Regions from separate parts of the Homo sapiens genome. Here region 1 is linked to region 2. The links are contacts of gene promoters, found by promoter capture Hi-C in human tissues and cell types (Jung and others, 2019). All regions are on one chromosome and are shown on one strand. The core of a region is centred on a gene start or on the middle of the fragment in contact, and the rest is flanking DNA. Distances in the headings are between cores, read along the strand shown.

Region 1 (4,520 bases), core at 1,017-3,516, 560 kb before region 2:
AGGCAACCAACAAGAAACTCTAGTGTGGTTAGTGCCACATCAAGTTTGTGGGGTGGGAGTAGAGAATAGGGATGGAATCCACCTGAGGCTGGTGCTCTAAAGAAAGAGGCATTTAAGATGAATCCAGAAGGGAGTTCTGGGGCAGGCCAAGCTGTGTTGCTCACCTCTAGATATTCAGCCTAGGGTGTCAACCTTTCCTTCTCCACACAGAGCCTTGTCCCACTCCACCCCTAAAATTCCCCTTTTCTCCAAGCAAAAGGGAAAACAAGAAAAGAAAAACCAACCTATGGTCCTGGAACACCCGTGCCTTGTTTCTTAGGGAGAAGAGGTGACAGGGTGTGATGCCTTGTTGGAAGCTATACTGTATTCTGAGCTGCAAATTAAGTGTAGGGTCCAATGAAGTCCCGAAGAAATCTCTGACAGAAGTACTCCCAGAATGTGGGATGCACAGTCCCAGCGCCCCCATGTCTCCCTGAGTGAGCCAGCCTTCCAGCCCCTTTCTTTTCTGTCCCTACAGGCTCTACAGTTCCCTCCTTCAGGGCAGGGGCACTTTTTTTTTTCAGAGAGTGCACTGGTTTGTTTTGCCACAATTTACCAACATTCAGGTGTCAGAGAAACGGGAAGTAATGTTTGAAGGAGCAGCTCTGTGCTAGGAGCCAGGTACTGTGCTTGGCGCGCAATCTGTATGACCTCATTCCATCCTCACAGCAAAACTGTCACTGTGAGCAGTCCAGGCTGGAGGCCTGGAGCTAGGTGTCCAAAGATGGTCAGACTTATGTCTGAATTCTGACTCTATCTGCCACCTACTAGTTGGGTGAACCTGAGCATATCACCTAACTTTTCTGAGCTGCAGTTTGTTTATCTCTAAAATAGGATTATGATAATCTACTCCATGCCTTATTTTGAGGATCAAAATGATCATGTATGAAGTGTAAGTATGCATAATATGTATAATATAGGAGGGAAAACCACTTGGCATAGTGTCCAGCACATAGTGAGTGCCCAGTAAATAATGGCTTGAAAAATAGATTGGCATTATGCCAGTTTTATAGGTGAGAAATCTGGGACCCAGCAGTTAATTTGCTTAATGTTGCCCAGCTAATAGATGGCAGCCCTTGGAGCTTGATATATATCAGACTCCCAAGTTAATATGCTTTAACAAATGCAATTTTGGGGGTCCTGTTTATAAAACATGCTCATTGTAGAATAAGAAAATACAGCATATCAAGAATAAAAATTAAAACCACCCCTAGTCTCACTGTATAACAGTTTAGTATATTTTTATATAGTCTTCTATGTACTTTTAACATAATTAAAAACAGTGCATATACAATTTTGTATCCTACTTATTCACTTAGTTTTCATTGTAAGCATTTTTTTTTATTATACTTTAAGTTCTGGGGTACATGTGCAGAAGGTGCAGGTTTGTTACATAGGTATACACGTGCCATGGTGGTTTGCTGCACCCATCAACCCATCACCTACATTAGGTATTTCTCCTAATGCTGTCCGTCCCATAGCCCCCCACCCCCCTACAGGCCACAGTGTGTGATATTACCCTTCCTGTGTCCATGTGTTCTCCTTGTTCAACTCCCACTTATGAGTGAGAACATGCAGTGTTTGTGTGTCCGGCGTTGGTGGGTTCTTGGTCTCACTGACTTCAAGAATGAAGCCGCGGACCCTCGTGGTGAGTGTTACAGCTCTTAAGGTGGCGCGTCTGAAGTTTGTTCCTTCTGATGTTCAGATGTGCTCTGAGTTTCTTCCTTCTGGTGGGTTCGTGGTCTCGCTGGCTCAGGAGTGAAGCTGCAGACCTTCGCGGTGAGTGTTACAGCTCTTAAGGTAGCGCGTCTGGAGTTGTTCGTTCCTCCTGGTGGGCTCGTTGTCTCGCTGGGTTCAGGAGTGAAGCTGCAGATCTTCACGGTGAGTGTTACAGCTCATAAAAGGAGCGTGGACCCAAAGCGTGAGCAGTAGCAAGATTTATTGCAAAGAGTGAAAGAACAAAGCTTCCACAGTGTGGAAGGGGACCCGAGCGGGTTGCCAATGCTGGCTCGGGCAGCCTGCTTTTATTCTCTTATCTGGCCCCACCCACATCCTGCTGATTGGTAGAGCTGAGTGGCCTGTTTTGTCAGGGTGCTGATTGGTGCGTTTACAATCCCTGAGCTAGATATAAAGACTCCACGTCCCCATCAGATTAGTTAGATACAGAGTTTCAACACACAGGTTCTCCAAGGCCCCACCAGAGCAGCTAGATACAGAGTGTCGATTGGTGCACTCACAAACCTTCAGCTAAACACAGGGTGCTGATTGGTGTGTTTACAAACCTTGAGATAGATACAGAGTGCCGATTGGTGTATTTACAATCCTTGAGCTAGACATAAAGGTTCTCCATGTCCTCACCAGAGCAGCTAGATACAGAGTGTCGATTGGTGCACTCACAAACCTTGAGCTAAACACAGAGTGCTGATTGGTGTATTTACAATCCCTGAGCTAGATATAAAGACTCTCCACGTCCCCACCAGACTCAGGAGCCCAGCTGGCTTCACCTAGTGGATCCTGCACCGGGGCTGCAGGTGGAGCTGCCTGCCAGTCCTGCACCGTGTGCTCGCATTCCTCAGCCCTTGGGTGGTCGATGGGACTGGGCGCAGTGGAGCAGGGGGTGGTGCTCGTCGGGGAGGCTCGGGCCGCACAGGAAACCATGGAGTGGGTGGGAGGCTCAGGCATGGCGGGCTGCAGGTCCCGAGTCCTGCCCCATGGGAAGGCAGCTAAGGCCCTGGCAAGAAATCGAGCGCAGCGCCGGTGGGCCAGCACTGCTGGGGGACTCAGTACACCCTCCGCAGCCACTGGCCCGGGTGCTAAGTCCCCCATTGCCCGGGGCCAGCAGGGCTGGCTGGTTGCTCCGAGTGCGGGGCCCGCCAAGCCCACGCCCACCCGGAACTCCAGCTGGCCCACAAGCGCCGCATGCAGCCCCGGTTCCCACTGGTGCCTCTCCCTCCACACCTCCCTGCAAGCTGAGGGAGTGGGCTCCGGCCTTGGCCAGCCCAGAAAGGGGCTCCCACAGTGCAGTGGGGGGCTGAAGGGCTCCTCAAATGCCACCAAAGTGGGAGCCCAGGCAGGGGAGGTGCCGAGAGCAAGCGAGGGCTCTGAGGACTGCCAGCATGCTGTCACCTCTCATTTGGTTTTCTGTTCTTGTGATAGTTTGCTGAGAATGATGGTTTCCAGCTTCATCTATGTCCCTGCAAAGGACATGAACTCATCCTTTTTTTATGGCTGCATAGTATTCCATGGTGTATATGTACCACATTTTCTTTATCCATTCTATCATTCATGGACATTCAGGTTGGTTCCAAGTCTTTGCTATTGTGAATAGTGCCGCAATAAACATATGTGTGCATGTGTCTTTATAGTAGAATGATTTATAATCCTTTGGGTATATACCCAGTAATGGGATTGCTAGGTCAAATGGTATTTCTGGTTCTAGATCCTTGAGGAATCGCCACACTGTCTTCCACGATGTTTGAACTAATTTACACTCCCACCAACAGTGTAAAAGTGTTCCTATTTCTCCACATCCTCTCCAGCATCTGTTGTTTCCTGACTTTTTAATGTTTGCCATTCTAACTGGTGTGAGATAGTATCTCCTTGTAGTTTTGATTTGCATTTCTCTAATGACCAGTGATAATGAGCATTTTTTCATATGTTTGTTGGCTGTATAAATGTCTTCTTTTGAGAAGTGTCTGTTCATATCCTTTGCCCACTTTTTACTGGGGTTGTTTTTTCTTGTAAATTTGTTTAAGTTCTTTGTAGATTCTGGATATTAGACCTTTGTCAGATGGATAGATTGCAAAAATTTTCTCCCATTCTGTAGGTTGCCTTTCACTCTGATGATAGTTTCTTTTGCTGTGCTCTTTAGTTTAATTAGATTCCATTTGTCAATTTTGGCTTTTGTTGCCATTGCTTTTGGTGTTTTACTCATGAAGTCTTTGCCCATGCCTACGTCCTGAATGGTATTGCCCAGGTTTTCTTCTAGGATTTTTATGGCTTTAGATCTTATGTTTAAGTCTTTAATCCATCTTGAGTTGATGTTTGTGTAAGGTGTAAAGAAGGGGTCTAGTTTCAGTTTTCTGCATATGGCTAGCCAGTTTTTCCAACACCATTTATTAAATAGGGAAACTTTTCCCCATTGCTTGTTTGTGTCAGGTTTGTCAAAGATCAGATGGTTGTAGATGTGTGGTGTTATTTCTGAGGGCTCTGTTCTGTTCCATTGGTCTATATATCTGTTTTGGTACCAGTACCATGATGTTTTGGTTACTATAGCCTTGTAGTATAGTTTGAAGTCAGGTAGCATGATGCCTCCAACTTTGTTCTTTTTGCTTAAGATTGTCTTGTCTATGTGGGTTCTTTTTTGGTTCCATATGAAGTTTAAAGTAGTTTTTTCCAATTTTGTGAAGAAAGTCAATGGTAGCTTGATGGGGATAGCATTGAATGTATAAATTACTTTGGGCAGTATGGCCATTTTCACG
Region 2 (3,927 bases), core at 270-2,769:
TGTCAAGTATTTATTAAGTGAGGGAGAAACGCAAATTACAAAACAGTACCTCTAATTGCTCCATGTATATGATTAATATATATATATATATATATATGTCTTTTCCTATATGTATATATATAAGGAAACTGCCTTATTTTTGAAGTTGCTGGTTGGGATTTCTCTGTTCTTTCAGCCCCTGGGGGACACCTCAGTTAAAGCAAGATCAGTCTGTTGGCCGAGAGTGGTGGCTCACGCCTGTAATCCCAGCACTTTGGGAGTCCGAGGCGCGTGGATCACCTGAGGTCAAGTTCTAGACCAGCCTGGCCAACATGGCGAAACCCCATCTCTACTAAAAATAAAAAATAATAATAAATTAAAAAAATAAAAAAAATTAGCCGGGCATGGTGGCGCTCATCTGTGATCCCAGCTACTCGGGAGGCTGAGGCAGGAGAATCGCTTGAATCTAGGAGGTGGAAGTTCCAGTGAGCCGAGATTGCGCCACTGCACTCCAGCCTGGGAGACAGAGGGAGACTCCGTCTCAAAAAAAAAAAAAAAATCAGTCTGTTGATACACAGTTGTCCTCCCCGCCCCAACGGCACTCCAGGGCAGGGCTCTGTCCTATTCATCTTTATATTCCCTCACTCCAGTACCCAGCATAGTGCCTGGTGTAAAGCCCCTGCTCCTAAGCGTTTGATGAAGGAAAGATAAAAGGAACGACCTTGGTTCATCTTGTGCGCCCCCGCCCCGCCCACCGCCCCACGCATCCTCGCCCTCTATTCCTCCAATCCCCAACCCGCCATAATCCTTTCCTTCTTCCTCTGGCTACGCCACTCACCTCTGATCGTTCACAGCTGCATTGGCATGGTAGTAACCAGCCACCACCAGACCGGCCTGTGCTCCCCACACATCCACCTGTCGTAGGAAAGGGGCCATCAGTAATTAAATTGTGCCGCTGGCTTTGTGGATGCGCACTGCTGCCAAGGGACCGGGGATGAACTTGGGCTGGGGTGTTGGGTGGGTTCGCGGTGGGGGATGGGCATCCAACGGAGGCACCTGGTTGAGGGCGACCTCCAACATGACGGACAGGGCCAGGTGGCTGTGGAAGAGGGGCACACAGTCGGTGAGGCACAGGCATTCTCCAGACCGCGGCGCTGGCGCCAAAAACAGCCCGTTGACTGCGGCGTGTGGGTACCGGGCAGCATGCAGGCACATCTTCACGTAGGCCAGGGCCGAGATCTCCACCTCCCCCATGGCGAGCGAGGCCTGGACGGGAAGCAGCAAGCCGGATTAGTACCGGATTAGGCGAGCCGGTGCCTAGCTCGCGTCCGTGAAGCTCCCTCCAGCGCTTCGGCACGCTCTTTGACCCTTCCCCGTGCCCTCTCACTTCGGTTCGGCGACAACGCTAACTCGACTCGCAGGTAGCCCGCCGGCTCCCGGCGCCCTGGGTCCCGGAGTCCGCCCCCGGCCCAGTCCAGGAGGAGGTCCCGATTGCATCCGAGCCCCGCCTTCCCGCGCCCCTAGCTGGCGGCCGCGACTCTGCGCCTGCCTGGGAGACAGACCAAACTGCAGCTCCCTGCAGAACTGGCTCCTGGAGTCCCGCCCACGTGGTGCTCCTTGATAGGGCTAAAGGCTTTCAATTTGTCCAATCAGCGGCCGCGCCCCAACGTTGCCCCGCCTTTGTCTCCAGCGGACTGGAAAGAACCCACCATTGTGAAGCACAGAAAATTGCCCGCACTCTTATTGGCTAGGTTCCCCGACTTCCGCTCTCGGTTGGTGGTTGGCTTTGCCTGTTACCTGTGTTGCCCACTACCACTCGCTCCGCCGAGCCCCAAGGATGGATCGCTATCCCGTAGCCGGGTGTTCCGGAGCGCTGCGGGCAAAGCAGACCGCCTTGCGCCTATTATGGGTTGAGTGGCTCTGTACTCTAGATCGGCTCTGTCACTTACTAATGGGCCGTGTTGCCTTCGCGACTGCAGGTTTTCTTGCCCTTGGTTTATCTTTTGCCCGTGTTCCTTTAAGGATTTAATGAGATATGTATGGGGGCAGGCTTCCAGCCAGTCTAGTGCTTCGCAGCACATTCTTATCTCATATTTTATGACAGGATAAGGCCCTGAATTAAAGAACAATCCCATGGAGTTTACAGCAAGATCACAGCAAAGGAACCCTTGTCTCTATCACCAGCCCAGGGCTGAATCTTGAAAAGCAGAGATAAAGACAGTGATTGGCTGAAGGGGATATGGGGGAGGACAGTAAGAAAAACTTACAGATTCATCCTTCCCATAATGTCCTGCGATGTATTTCCTTCACCACAGTGCCTTGGAAGCATTATTTTTTCCCCTCCTAGCCCTTAAGGAGGGAGTCCAGGCCCGGCGCGGTGGCTCACGCCTTGTAATCCCAGCACTTTGGGAGGCCGAGGTGGGTGGATCGCCTGAGGTCAGGAGTTCGAGACCAGCCTGGCCAACATGGCGAAACCCCGTCTCTATTAAAAATACAAAAAAATTAGCCAGGTGTGGTGGCACATGCCTGTAATTCCAGCTACTCGGGAGGCTGAGGCAGGAGAATTGCTTGAACCCGGGAGACGGAGGTAGCAGTAAGCTGAGATCGTGCCATTGCACTCCAGCCTGGGCAACAGAGCAAGACTCCATCTCAAAAAAAAAAAAAAAAGGGTGGGGGGAGTCCAATCATTCATCCGTAGTTCTCCATAGTTCTCCCAGTGAAACCTTATTCTCCTTCTAGGCTTTTCCTGAACTGATGAGGATTCTTTCTTTCTTCATTCCTGATGTTGACCACAGAACTTTCCCCTTGTGTATCCAAAGCCTGATTATTCCCATAAGGGCTCTGTGCAAATGCCATCTCTTCCAATAATTCCTGAGACCTCTGGATGAAAATAATACTGTTACATTCCAAAATACAGGTTATCTGCATGGCTGCCATGGCATGTAACAATCCCCACCCTAGGCACTCAGGGTGAAGGACTTGGACTATAAACCCAATGGAGAAGATAGCCCTTCAACCTCTGTGACTTTTCTAAAGCTACTTTCCCCCCTTTTTGCCTTAGATGGAAACAGATAAGCAGGAGAAGAAAGAAGGTAAGTGAGATAAGAGGTGACTAGGGAAGGGGAGATGGCACATTGACTACTGGATGAGAAAGGGCCTGAATCCCCTCTTTCTCACAGTCAAGATTACAGTGGGCATCTAAGTCATCTTTGTCTTTGTGACACCCACCCCTTCCCACCACATTCATCTTCAGGCTGGACATAGGTGCCACTCAATAAATGCTTTTTGAATGAATGACACACGCCAGAAGGGAATCCACACAACATATAGATCATTTATTTTCCTTCTAGTCCCGGGTTCAGTACATAGATGGCTTTTCTTCACCCTTTGGGTTGACAATTTTCTCCAGGTTGCTGCTGATGATATGATAAAGCTCAGCCTGGGAGAAGGCCAGAGTGCAAGAGTCAGGTTCTTAGCCAATCCCCTGCCTGCCCCCACTCATCCACCTCCCCTAAAGCCTTACTCCACACTCACATAGAAGGCCCTCAGGTCCAGCACCATGGCCCTGAGCTCCCCATAGGCTGCCTCATCTCGCTCATGCACCAAGGCCCGGTAATCCATCTGCAATGTGGGAGGCAAAGCTGAGTCAGTCCCATGGGAGGCTGGGACATGAGTCTGGTTTCCTTTTATAGGAAATAGGTTAACTTGAGAATGAACCCCTTCTTAGCACCAAGAAATAGGATCCCAAAGGACTGAGCAGAGAAAAGGGTCAAGGTTGTTGAAGCCCAAACCAGTTTTTCTAGGTAATGCTTTTAGCTTAATATTCTCCACATTGGGAAAGTCACAAACAAGACAAGGAGGACTTCTTCCTCCACACCTCCTCGTCCCACACCCAGCTAAAAGGCTGGTGGACTATCCACTCACTACATGAGTCTCCTTGGAGGCCTT

Evidence for each region. Contacts are between HindIII fragments. The study calls those that stand out against the background at their distance.
Region 1: a contact is called between a fragment that was not itself captured here and the fragment with the promoter of EMC9 in region 2, in 1 of the 25 tissues and cell types used here (hippocampus).

The regions. Positions count from the first base shown.
Region 1 is chr14:23,582,277-23,586,796 of GRCh38, forward strand. No RefSeq gene overlaps it. Among named protein-coding and RNA genes, the nearest start is that of JPH4, 5.7 kb to the left of the region's middle. RefSeq lists an enhancer at 2,870-3,369. The HindIII fragment of the contact is 8,014 bases long and covers 1-4,520 here.
Region 2 is chr14:24,140,072-24,143,998 of GRCh38, forward strand. EMC9 (ER membrane protein complex subunit 9) reads right to left here and starts at 1,520. Exons shown (of 6, transcript NM_016049.4): 1 at 1,367-1,520; 2 at 1,036-1,245; 3 at 818-894. The coding sequence starts at 1,233. It overlaps PSME2 (proteasome activator subunit 2), which reads right to left. Exons shown (of 11, transcript NM_002818.3): 9 at 3,904-3,927; 10 at 3,514-3,600; 11 at 3,294-3,418. The coding sequence ends at 3,338. It overlaps MIR7703 (microRNA 7703), which reads right to left and starts at 3,494; the gene lies at 3,418-3,494. RefSeq lists a silencer at 1,354-1,443. The HindIII fragment of the contact is 5,248 bases long and covers 1-3,927 here.